Linked DNA regions of Homo sapiens: region 1 is linked to region 2. The links are contacts of gene promoters, found by promoter capture Hi-C in human tissues and cell types (Jung and others, 2019). All regions are on one chromosome and are shown on one strand. Each heading gives the region's core, a stretch centred on a gene start or on the middle of the fragment in contact. The rest is flanking DNA. Distances are from core to core; before and after follow the strand shown. Region 1 holds the start of EIF4A3 (eukaryotic translation initiation factor 4A3). Region 2 holds the start of USP36 (ubiquitin specific peptidase 36).

Evidence for each region. Contacts are between HindIII fragments. The study calls those that stand out against the background at their distance.
Region 1: a contact is called between the fragment with the promoter of EIF4A3 here and the fragment with the promoter of USP36 in region 2, in 1 of the 25 tissues and cell types used here (lymphoblastoid cells).

What each region holds. Positions count from the first base shown.
Region 1 is chr17:80,143,686-80,149,642 of GRCh38, forward strand. It overlaps EIF4A3 (eukaryotic translation initiation factor 4A3), which reads right to left and starts at 3,443. Exons shown (of 12, transcript NM_014740.4): 1 at 3,108-3,443; 2 at 487-559. The coding sequence starts at 3,276. RefSeq lists enhancers at 2,670-3,384, 3,385-4,097, 4,098-4,811, 4,812-5,524 and silencers at 3,022-3,071, 3,912-4,101. The HindIII fragment of the contact is 11,065 bases long and covers 1-5,957 here.
Region 2 is chr17:78,836,502-78,842,566 of GRCh38, forward strand. It overlaps USP36 (ubiquitin specific peptidase 36), which reads right to left and starts at 4,313. Exons shown (of 21, transcript NM_001385174.1): 1 at 4,235-4,313; 2 at 2,086-2,249. LOC124904067 (a long non-coding RNA gene) reads left to right here and starts at 4,613. Exons shown (of 2, transcript XR_007065923.1): 1 at 4,613-6,065. RefSeq lists enhancers at 1,767-2,281, 2,282-2,796, 4,391-4,580 and silencers at 3,721-4,240, 4,701-4,800. The HindIII fragment of the contact is 7,372 bases long and covers 854-6,065 here.

The DNA.
Region 1 (5,957 bases), core at 2,193-4,692, 1.3 Mb after region 2:
ATGAAAGCCTTGGCCGGGCGCAGTAACTCATGCCTGAAATCCCAGCACTTTAGGAGGCCAAGGAGGGTGGATCACCTGAGGTCAGGAGTTTGAGACCAGCCTGACCAACATGGTGAAACCCCCGTCTCTACTAAAAATATGAAAATTAGTCGGGCATGGTGGTGCATGCCTGTAATCCCAGCTACTTGGGAGGGTGAGGCAGGAGAATAGCTTGAAACTGAGAGGCAAAGGTTGCAGTGAGCCGAGATGGCACCACTGCACTCCAGCCTGGGCAACAGAGCGAGACTCCATCTCAAAAAGAAAATGAAAGCTTTCCACAGTAGAGAACACAAATTTAAAAAAGTATTAAACCCTGTGGCTAAAGTCAGGGAAAGTGTTGGAACTGAGCGTGTACAAGCTGAGGGAAACAGTCATCCCAGAGCATCTAACTGCACTGCGCTGCCCAAATTTACATCCAGCCCTGCGCCGCACCCCAGGACAACTTACTGTGCGATGACATCTCTCCCTTTGATGATCTGCTTGATTGCTCGTTGCTGGATTGCTGATGGTTTTTCAAAACCTGCAAATAAAAACAAAAAATTAGCCCTCACCACAATGACAGCATAGAAACCCTGTACTGTGAGCTCCTCAGGGGCAGACATGGTTTGTTTTTTGAACCTGTCCTCCAGCCTAACCCAGTGTTCAACATAGCAAGCTCTCAAAACCCAGGGGCTCAATGAATTGGGCTGAGTGATTTCTACACTAACGTGGGATATTATTTGTAAAGACCAATCTCTATTTTTAAAAAACCACCAAATTGTAGAATATAGACAACAGTTTTGTTTAAAAAAAAAAAAAAATCTGGGTGTGCAGCATCTGGAAGTGTAAGTGCCAAAATGTTCCTGGCAGTTACTGCAGTAGAGGGGTGGAAAGAAACTTACTTTTTACTCTAATTACTCCCTTAGGTTTGACTGGATTACAAACAACCTATACTACTTTTTAAATTAAAAAAAAAAACAACAAAAAAACAGGAAAGTCACTCTAGCCATTGTTCTCTCCTACTAGCTAGCATTAAGTCTGTGTGTTGCTGACAGGTCTACAACTCTGTTTAACCTGCGTGGGTCACGCTGCAGGGTGTCCTATGTTGTTCTGTCTGGATGCAGCTCACTAACTACAACACCATCACACCATCTCTCTTGCAAAGCAACTACTACACCAAAGGGTGAGGCTATTTTGAAGAAGAACCACGTGTTTTTCAAGTAAATAAAATTTTATGTACAAAAACTCTATTTCAATTATTTTTTGGTAGTCTCTTAAATGTAGCTCTGCTCAGTTCTGGGGCATAGCGAAAAATAAGAAACAAAAGAAAATGTAGCACAATTTCCCATCTTAACACAAATGCAAATATAGCAGATGATTTAAACTCTTCATGAAGAGCAAGCACATAGATGGGAAACTAACAACAGTGTCTTAGGGCAGGGACTGCCTGAGTGCCAGGAAACCAGGTGGGGCTGTCAGCCTCACTGTGAGGCTGCCTGAGATGCTTTTTCACCACGCATCCTCAGCAACTTCGCTTCACTTTGTCCAAACTGTTGTGGCATCAAGAACTACAGGATACGGCCAGGTGGGGTGGCTCACACCTGTAATGCCATCACTTTGGGAGGCTGAGGCTGGTGGATCACTGAGGTCAGGAGTTCAAGACCAGCCTGGGCAACATGGCAAAATCCCCTCCCTACTAAAAATACAAAAATTAGTAGGACGTGGTGGCCCACACCTATAATCCCAGCTACTCGGGAGGCTGAGGCAAAGGAATCGCTTGAGCCCCAGAAGTGGAAGTTGCAATAAGCTGAGATCATGCCACTACACTCCAGCCTTGGTGACAAGAGCAGGACTGTCAGAAGGAAAAGGAAGAAAGAAAAGGAAGAGAACTACAGGATAAAAAATGTCCCTGTCCCAAGCATTAAACACAGGCCATTTATCCCAGATGCTGGTCATTCCCATCTATGTGCCCAACCCAACCTCTTCTCCAGGCTCTCCCTCAACTTCCTCACATCTTTCAAACATACCAAGAGACAGCTCCTGATTCTGACTCTCTGGAGTGCTGCCTACCTAGCCAAATGTTTGCAGCATCAACCACCGGTTACTCAAAACACTCCAACTCTCCTCCTTCTGTCACTCACGTTCAATCCATCAGCCAATGCTGTCAGCTCCCTGGTACTCCATCTCCAAGGCAGCACAATCCTCTCTTCCCTGAACTGCAGCAAAAGCTCCCAACTCTCTTGTTTCCTCTCCTGCCTTGCCTCGCCTCACCTCAAATCTACAGACACCCAGAAGAATCTTTAAAACTGTAAATGTGATCGTGTCACATAGCTACTTAAAACCTTCCACTGGCTTCCCACTAGATTTCTAAATGAAATTCAAATTATTCGTCACCCTACACGTCTTTGCTAGATCTGCCCCGACTAGCTCTCCAAAATCCCACCACAGGGGACTTCTTTCAGTTCCTGGAATGCAGCTGGCTAAGGGCTGCAAGGCCCTGGCACCAGCTGTTCCTTCTGCCCCAACTGCTCTTCCCTCTTCTCATAACAGTCTCCTTCATCCAGAACTCTGCTCAAATGGCACCCCCTCCTGCGAACCCCCTTACCTCTCTGCTTTACTAATTCTCTCCTCCTTCCCAGTCCCACTCTATTCAATTACCCCGCTTCAGGTTCTTCAGGTTGCCTGGGCAACCTGACAGTATGCTTTCCCCCCAAACGAAATTCAAAACCCGTAAAGGCGCAAACCCTTCCGGTTTACCGCCAAAACCCCAGTACCTAGAAAAGCTAATAGGTAGAAATCAGTTATCTGCTGAATGAAGGACGCTGAGGTGCCTCGAAGCGGCTGCAGCCCCCGACAGACCCAGCGCCGAGCTCTGCACGGGGGACACACACCGAAAGCGCCGACACAGCCAGGCGTGAGGGCGAGGACGGGGGTGGGGGTGGGGGTCGGACGTCACTGGCCCCCGAGCCTCGACCCTGACCACGACCTCCGGAGCGCAGGGCCGGCCCGGGAGTCACCAGTCTGGCCCTCAGCCCCCGGCTCGCCCCCGACTCGCCCCCGGCTGGCCCCCGCGGCCCGCGCCCGCTCACCGTAAGCGTAGATGCCCCGCAGCAGGTCCTCCCGCAGGCCCATGGTGTCGAACGTGGGGGTCACATCCACCTCCTCGCTGGTCTCGAATTCCACTTTAGTCATGTCTTCCTCTTTGAGCAGCCGCTTTCGCGCCGAGCCCGAGGTCGCCATCGTGGCCGTGGTCGCCATGATTCAGAGTCCGCGGAAGAGCACAGCGCGCGCCGCTGCCGACCTCGCTGCCGCTGCCGACCTCGCTGTGCCGCTGCCGACCTCGCTGCCGCTGCCGACCTCGCTGTGCCGCTGCCGACCTCGCTGTGCCGCTGCCGACCTCGCTGTGCCGCTGCCGACCTCGCTGTGCCGCTGCCGAGAACAGACGCCTTAAGTATGCGAAAGCGAGAGACGTGCGTGCGTACGTGCGTACGTGCGTACGCGCGACGCGGCCACGCCTCTGGGGGACGGGGCACTCTTCGTCACGTGAAAGGGAACTGGGCGTTTGCCGCAGGGAAAAGTAAGGTGTTTCTGCTCTCGCGCCATATGCAGTTCCCGCGGGATCTCGTTGAGGGCGGGGCACCCAGTTCCTTACGAAAGGGATGGAGGGGGTGGTACTTCTAAAGTTGGCGGTGTTTCGTACCGGCCGCGGGATTTCGCGGACTGGGGCGCTGAGGTTCTTTGAGCGGCGTGTGGACCTGAATTCCCTGGAAACAGGCTGGGGCCGCGAGGGGCCTCCGCTCCGGGCGGGGTCCCCAGATAGCCCCGCCTCGAATAAAAATGACGAGCACGGGTCCTCTCTCGGGCCCGCAGTGGGTGGACTGCGTCGCAGACCCGTAGTGGAGGCGCCCAGCTCGCCGGGGAGATTCGAGTGGAAACCCTCACGGCCGCCGGTGGTGGGCCCCGGCGCGGCGCTGGGCTCCGGCGGGTCTGCGCTGGGGAGGGCCAGGGCCCCTGAAGCCGGCGTCCCTCTTAGGGGACGCGCCTGGGTGTGTCTTCACCGTTTGCCTGGTGAGTTGGAGACAGGGTCTCGCTCCGTCGCCCAGGCTGGAGTGCAGTGGTAGGATCAGGGTTCATTGTAGCCTCCGCCTCAGCCTCTGGAGTAGCTGGGACCTCAGGCGCGCGCCACCACGCCCGGCTAATTTTTTAAATTTTTTTGTAGAGACGGGGTTGGGGGAGGCGGGGGTTAGGGTTGTCCTGGCTGGTCTTGAACTGCGGGGCCTCAGGTGATCCGCCTGCCTTGGCCTCCCAAAGTGCTGGGATTACAGGCATGAGCCACTGTGCCCGGCAAGCAGCTGTTATAAATAAAATACATGCTGAGCCTGCAATTTGCTCTTAATGAAGGCCACTTGTCAGTAGACGGTGCTGCTAATGCGTGTCCTGCAGCAAAGATAACCCAGACGGGATCATTTTTTAATTGCCCAGCAGAACTTTAACCAGTTGTGCATCTTAACCTGCTTTTTGTTTGTTCGTTTGTTTGTTTTGAGACAGTCTGGCCCTGTCGCCCAGGCTGGAGTGCCATGGCGCGATCTCGGTTCACTGCAGCCTCCACCTCCCGAGCACAGGCGATCCTCCCGCCTCAGCCTCCAGAGCACCTGGGACCACAGGTGTCCACGCGCAGCCACTAACCGCTTTCTTATCTGACACTTTAAGTGCTTCTTCGTACCCAGCTCCTCTAACGCCTTTTGAAGCAGCTCCATCATCTTTGAAGGGCAGTTCATGCTGTTGAGAATCATGTTTTTAACTTTGGGAAAATTGTATTTCCACGAGCGCCAGCTCTGTCCTTTTTTTTTTTTTTTTTTTTTTTTTTTTTTGACGGAGTCTTGCTCGGTTCGCCCAGGCTGGAGTGCAGTGTCGCGATCTCAGCTCACTGCAAGTTCTGTCGCCCAGGTTCACGCCATTCTCCTGCCTCAGCCTCCCAAATAGCTGGGACTACAGACACGCGCCACCACGCCCAGCTAATTTTCTGTATTTTTAGTATAGACCGGGTTTCACCATGTTGGCCAGGATGGTCTTGATCTCTTGACCTCATGATCCGCCCACCTCGGCTTCCCAAAGTGCTAGGATTACAGGCGTGAGCCACCGCGCCCCGCTATTTTGTGTGTGTGTGTGTGTGTGTGTGTGTGTGTGTGTGACAGAGTCTCGCTCTGTTCCCCAGGCTGGAGTGCAGTGGCGCAATCTTGGCTCACTGCAACCTCTGCCTCCCGGTTCAAGCGACTCCCCTTCCTCACCCTCCTGAGTAGCTAGGATTACAGGCATGCACCACCACGCCCGGCTAATTTTTGTATTTTTAGTAGAGATGGGGTTTCCCCGTGTTGGTCAGGCTGGTCTTGAACTCCTGACCTCATGATCTGCCCGCTTCAGCCTCCTAAAATGCTGGGATTACAGGCATGAGCCCGGTCCTGTCCTTTCTTATGGTCACAAATCTGGCTTGCATCGCTGGGCACATCTTTAATCCACAGCTTCTTTCTAGGAGTGCTTGAAAAGCTCTCCTTTTATGAAGGTTAATTTTAGTTAAAACCAGAGCATCCTGGCCAGGCCTGGTGGCTCACGCCTGTAATCCCAGCACTTTGGGAGGCCGAGGCAGACGGATCATGAGTGTAGGAGTTCGAGAACAGCCTGGCCAAAATGGTGAAACCCCATCTCTACTAAAAAAAAAATACAAAAATTAGCTGGCCGTGGTGACGGGTGTCTGTAGTCCCAGCTACTCTGGAGGCTGAGGCAGGAGAATCTCCTGAACCCCGGAGGTGGAGGTTGCAGTGAACCGAGATTGCGCCACTGCACTCCAGCCTGGGCGACAGAGACTCCATCTCAAAAATAAACAGAAAACCAGAGCATCCTTTTATCAAGAAGTCGGTGGATTGCAGTATTTCAAGGGTGAA
Region 2 (6,065 bases), core at 3,063-5,562:
TGGATCAGCTGCACAAAGGAAACAGGGAGACCCAGCACTAATCACTTGGACATATTAGTTCACATTTCCCCCACAAAAAGATAAGATGCCACTACAAATAGAGGTGAGCAGACAACAGTGGCCCTGAGGCAGCCAGACAGCCCCTGCCATGTGCATCTCTTCATCAGATACTCATCAAGTGGCTCTGGACATCATTCTTGGTGCCATTTCCTTCCAAAGGTCATCACGTGGTCCAAATGTCTGCTCCAAAACAGGGGCACACTAATTCTCACATACAAACTGGTTATACACACACGGACACACACACACACACACACAAACGGACACACACACACACACCCACGCAATAAATGAATTAGCATGCAGGTCAGATGAGCATGCATGTCTGTACAGACCTGCACTCTTCAATATGAAGGCCACAGGCCACACGTGGCTACTGAGCATGTGAAATGAGGCTAGTCCAGGTTGAGAGGTGCTATAAGTGTAAAATGCACACCAGATTTTGAAGAGAAATACTCACTAGTATAAGAAGAGAATGTAAAACATCCCAGTAATTTTTAGATCAGTTACCTGTTGAAATGGTAATATTTTATATATATTGAGTTAAATAAATTATGAAAATGAATTTCACCTGCTTCTTTTTAATGTGGCTACTATAAAATTTTAAATTATATTTGTGGCTTGTATTAATCTCCATTACACAGTGCTTGGAGTACAAATTATCTTTTTAAAAGTGAGGAAGGAGAAGAAAAGCAAGTAGCAGGCCTAGAGACTAGTATCCATTAGACACCTAAACTTAAACAAATGTCTTCCCAGGACTCTTATCAAAAGAGAAGAAGAAAAGCCAAGCAGGAGAGTGGGGAGATCACAGGCTTTGGAATGTGGTGGCCCCGGGAGGTTCTATCATCCTTAGCTATGAAACCCAGGGACAACTACTATGACTTCTCCAAACCCCCTATTCTACTGTAAAATAGCAACAAAAATAATAGGCTTGGGAAGTGCTTTAGAGCTTGCTACATACTACAGTCCCTAACAGAGGATCGATACTGTTGGTGCAGCTGCATGGAAACTGTAACCAAGAAGAGACCCCTGCACCTCTCCAATCGCTACCTTTGTATCCACCACTTGCCCTCCCCTACCCACCACCTCTCAACTTAACCTTCCCAAACACAGCACAGACTATCTGAGTCACAATTTCAAAAATATGTCCCTTAAATTGCTCACTCACATCAGAAAAATGATGACTTCCTCTGGTATTCAGTACCCAGCCTGCCCTCAGAGAATCAACAAGTCAAGTGTGCCCCAAAATTCTGCTCTAGTGAAAGTAAGGACTTCCTCCAGCACCTCATATTAAGCCATTCAAATTTATCACTGTGGATCATCTAATTCTATACATGGATCAAGTATCTTTTTCTACAAAAACTTCTGTAAAGAAAAGCCAGGTGCAGTGGCCTGGGCCTGTCGTCCCAGATGCTTGGGAGGCTGAGGTGGGAGGATAACTTGAGGGCAGGAGCCTGAGGCTGCAGTGAGCTATGATTACGCCTGTGAATAGCCAGTGCAGTCCAGCCTGGGCAACATCGTGAGACCCCATCTTTAAAACAAAAAAAATCGTGGCTCACGCCTGTAATCCCAGCACTTGGGAGGCCGAGACGGGTGGATCAGGAGGTCAGGAATTCAAGACCAGCCTGGCGAAGATGTTTCTCTACTAAAAATACAAAAAAACTAGCCAGGCATGGTGGCAGGCGCCTGTAATCCCAGCTACGCAGGAGGCTGAGGCAGAGAATTGCTTGAACACGGGAGGCAGAGGTTGGAGTGAGCCGAGATCGCGCCACTGCACTCCAGCCTGGGCAACAGAGCAAGACTTGGTCTCAAAAAAAAAAAAAAACAAAAAACAAAAAACTTCTGTAAAGAAATTTCAGAAGCTTATTTAAAAAAAAGCATTATAAGTTGTCTGATTTGAGAAAATAAAAGAGCCTTTTCTCATGAGAATTATCAAAGACTTCTCACCAACTGAACAATCACTGCTGCGTCACATGCAGACAATTCAACGGAATCAAAAAATACACAGAAGCCTCGCAGACTCACCTGGGATGTGCAGACTTGGGCCTGCTGTCCTACTGCGGCATGGAACCAGGATCTTAACGGAGGGCTGAGTTTGGTTGGGCAGGTGCTACGCGGAGCTCCTGAATGTAAGCGCTCCTGGACTGTGGCCTGTTCAAACACCGAAGCCGCAGAGCGGGCGTCAGAGCCTGTGGGAGGGACAGGGAGACCATCAGTGGAGGCGACTCTTCCTGTGCCTTCTCTTCAGCTACTTCCCAGGGATGCGGCGCGCACCGGGAACCCTCTACCACGAAAAAGCCGTCCAAGGAGCATCCACGCGTGCACTCAGGATGAGGCGGGTGGACCGTACTACCTCATCACCAGTTGTTGTAATGCACACGATATGAACACCTTAACCTTGACCCCAGACAAGCCCAGAGAAGGAAAACCTCCCCAACACCTGCCAGTCAGCTCCAGTCTAATCTTATTTCCAAAGAGTAAGAGGTAATAAATCCCCAAGTTTTGGATTTAATGAACCAGTAAAACTTCAATAACAACAACAACAAACCTCAGGGAGTAATAGGAGTTGCCAAAATTTTGCTTTGCTAAGTGTGGATTTTCTCTTTCATTACCATCTACGATCACTATGATTACATAAAATTAAGGTTCGTAAAAACAGTTTACAGTGAAAACATTCAAACACACAGATGGAGAACCGCACAGGGAGCACATGAGCCCCCCTTATTCAGCCTCAGTAACTACATCTGACCCATCCTGAGTCACTTCCCATCCCCAGGTAATTCTACAGCAAATCTCAGACCTATGACTTCATCCATAAATAAAAGCATACCAACTCCCGAAAAATGTGTAAGGAAATGATCTCAGAATAAAAGCCATCTACAAAGTGAAGACATCCAGTCGTATTAAAAACTCCCCACAATATCACTGCTTTCGGTTAGGACTCACATCTACCCTGGAAGGTGAGAACTCTGTCATGCACAACCAACGCTTGAGAACCACTTAGGGAGGGGATAAACGAACCTTGGGAGATGTAACCCAGTTTCACTCGAGATAAGTAACTTTGAACTTAACCCACTCCTTAATGTAGATGCAGAGATTTTGAACACAATTTTTCAAGTGGGACAGGTCAATCTCTACTTCACCAATTCCACCTAAAACATTAAGCAATAACCTAAACAACGCTCGCTCGCTCTCTGACGTGTAGGAGCCCGAGACAAGTGTTCCTGTAATCACTAGCAATCCCTCCGACGCACACACCATCCACACTCTACCCAACTCAGGAAGGATGCTCTCTCTTGTCCAAGGACAGCACAGGCCTCATCCACATTTCCACCTGCGCGAACCCCAGCCAGCACCATTTAGGCTCATTCCCGCTCCCTCCTCCTTCTAAAGTCACTTTTCCAGGATGAACTGCAACGGACGCTCGCAGGGTCAACCACGTGCTGGGGAGAGGAGCCCACGGAAGCAGCGGCCTCCCGGGGCCCAGCGCCGCGCTCCAGGGGCCTCCCGGGCGACTCCGCAGCGCCTGCCCCGAGCCCGGCCGCGGACACAGCGACCCGAGCACCTCTCCCCGAGCATGGCTCCGTGGCGAGCGTTACGTAAACGGGGGCGCGCGGAGTCTCCCCTCTCGTGTGTCTGGGTTTGGCGGCCGCCACTCCAGCCCCAGGCCCAGGACCCCCACGCCACCCGCCAGAAGCAGCAGCATCGGAACCGCACCCCGCCCCGGGCTCCATGGCCTCCTCCGCAACCACGAGGAAGGTGCCCGCCCCGGGGCCGCACCCGCCCCGCTGAGCTCTGCGGCCGCACGCGACGCCCTCGCCCTGATTCCGACTTCAACCTCTCCGAAGTTGACCTGAATCCTGCACAGACAGCGGGCCCCGGCGACCCCCATCACCGGCCCGGAGCCCGGGGGACGGCGGAGACCGGCGAGGACAGCCCGGCCCCGGACCCTCCTCGGGAATACCCGGGCTCTGGAGAAGCGAGCTCGCGAGCGGGCGGAGCATCCCGGGTCCTCCTCGGGGACGGCCGAAGCCCTGCGCGGACCCGCGCCCACGTTCTCCCTGAGCGTCCCGGCTGCGCCCGCCAGCCCTTCCCGCGCCCCAGGCCTCGCGGAACCCCCCGCCCCGGTCTCGTCCCCAGGCCTGCGCACCGCCCCGACCCGACCCCAGCCTACCCCGGCCTCTCCGCGGGCGCGCCACAAGCCTACGCAGCCCTGGCGACTCCTTCGGCCCGCGGCCCAGCACGCGCACCATCCGGGCCTCCGGCGCCTCACACACGTGTCACCGCGACGCTTAAAGGCGCCGCACCCAGCGTTCGCGCTGCGCTAACTCCGAAAGGGTTGGGAGGCTTTAAGAGGCGGGGCTAGATTCCGCTAACTCCCTGTCCCCGCCCACCGCCGCTTCCGTGTCGCCTACGTCACCTCCCCATCACGGGACCCCGCCAGCCTACGTGATGACGCAAGTGCGCAGAGCCACAGGCGCTCCCGCCCCTGTGCCGCGGCAGGGTGACGTCTCCGCAGCGCACTAGAGGTGCCGCTACTTCCGGGTCGGCCGAGCACACCTGGCGGCGTGGCGGACGCCTGAAGTGTGACAGTGGCGCGCGCCCCCGCCCCAGAACGGGGACTCGAGGGACTTTGCCCACCCCTGCAACAGCCCTCCCGCGCTGTCTCCCGGGCAGGGAGAAGGCTGGGCTCCCCCACCTGCCCCTGGCCGTCAGGTGGCTGTGGAGAAGCGGAGGCGCGGGCGCTCGGCCTTAACGTCCCGGGCTCTGGGGCCATCCGTGACTCCCACACGCGGAGCACCTGCAGTTTGGGGAGGGAGGGATCTGGGAGCGATCGGCCAAAGCCTGGGGCTGCCGAGGAAATGGCTCTTCGGAATTAGGGATCTGAGAGTGTGAGATTTGACCTTTGTAGGCTGGTGGCGGCTGTGCAATCTCTAGCTCCACCCACTCCCTCCAAAAGCTTTGTCCTCTGACAGCTCTGCGAAGGTTTTAGCTGAGTATTTGTGAGCACGTATTTCTTTTGCAGTATTTTTAAAAATCCTCTTGATCTGAGGCAACTTCGCTGGCTTCCTCCCCATTCCCTTGGGCAGGTTGAGAGTGTTGGTTCCTGGCCTGACCTCAGAAACTCAGAGAAGCACAGGATGGGCATAAACTACTTTATCCAAAAGGCAGAACTTTGCAAACACAGTCGTATCTGCTGTGTCTTTTTTGATGTAAGTAGGAATGATGAGTAGGGTGAAGTCACAGGTAAACAACCCAAAACGAATTTCCATGCCCTCCCCACGGATCCTAAAGCAGGGACTGGAGATGGGGAGAGAGGCTAGATGTACTTGGAACAAAATTCACCTTGTATTTATTACCTGGGCGCTGGTGTTTTTTGAAAAAAGCAAACAAGATAACCATATTAGTCTGATGCTGAGACTATGCCCTATCTGTAAGAATCCTTGGGCTGGGCGCGGTGGCTCACCCTTGTAATCCCAACACTTGGAGGCCAAGGTGGGCGGATCACCTGAGGTCAGGAGTTCGAGACCAGCATGGCCAACATGGTGAAACCCCGTCTCTACTAAACATACAAAAATTAGCTGGGTGTGGTGGTGGGCGCCTGTAATCCCAGCTACTCAGGAGGCTGAGGCACGAGAATCCCTTGAACCTAGGAGGCGGAGGTTGCAGCGAGCTGAGATGTCGCCACTGCACTCCAGCCTGGGCGACAGAGCGAGACTCCGTCTCAAAAGAAAAGAAAAGAAAAGAAAAAAAGGCAGGGCACAGTGGCTCACGCCTGTAATCCTAGCACTTTGGGAGGCCGAGGCAGGCAGATCGCTTGAGGTCAGGAATTCCAGACCAGCCTGGCCAACATGGTGAAAACCTGTCTCTACTAAAAATACAAAAATTAGCTGGGTATGGTGGCGCACGCCTGTAATCCGAGCTACTAGGGAGGCTGAGACAGGAGAATCGCTTGTACCTGGGAGGTGGAGGTTGCAATGAGCTGAGATCGTGCCATTGCACTC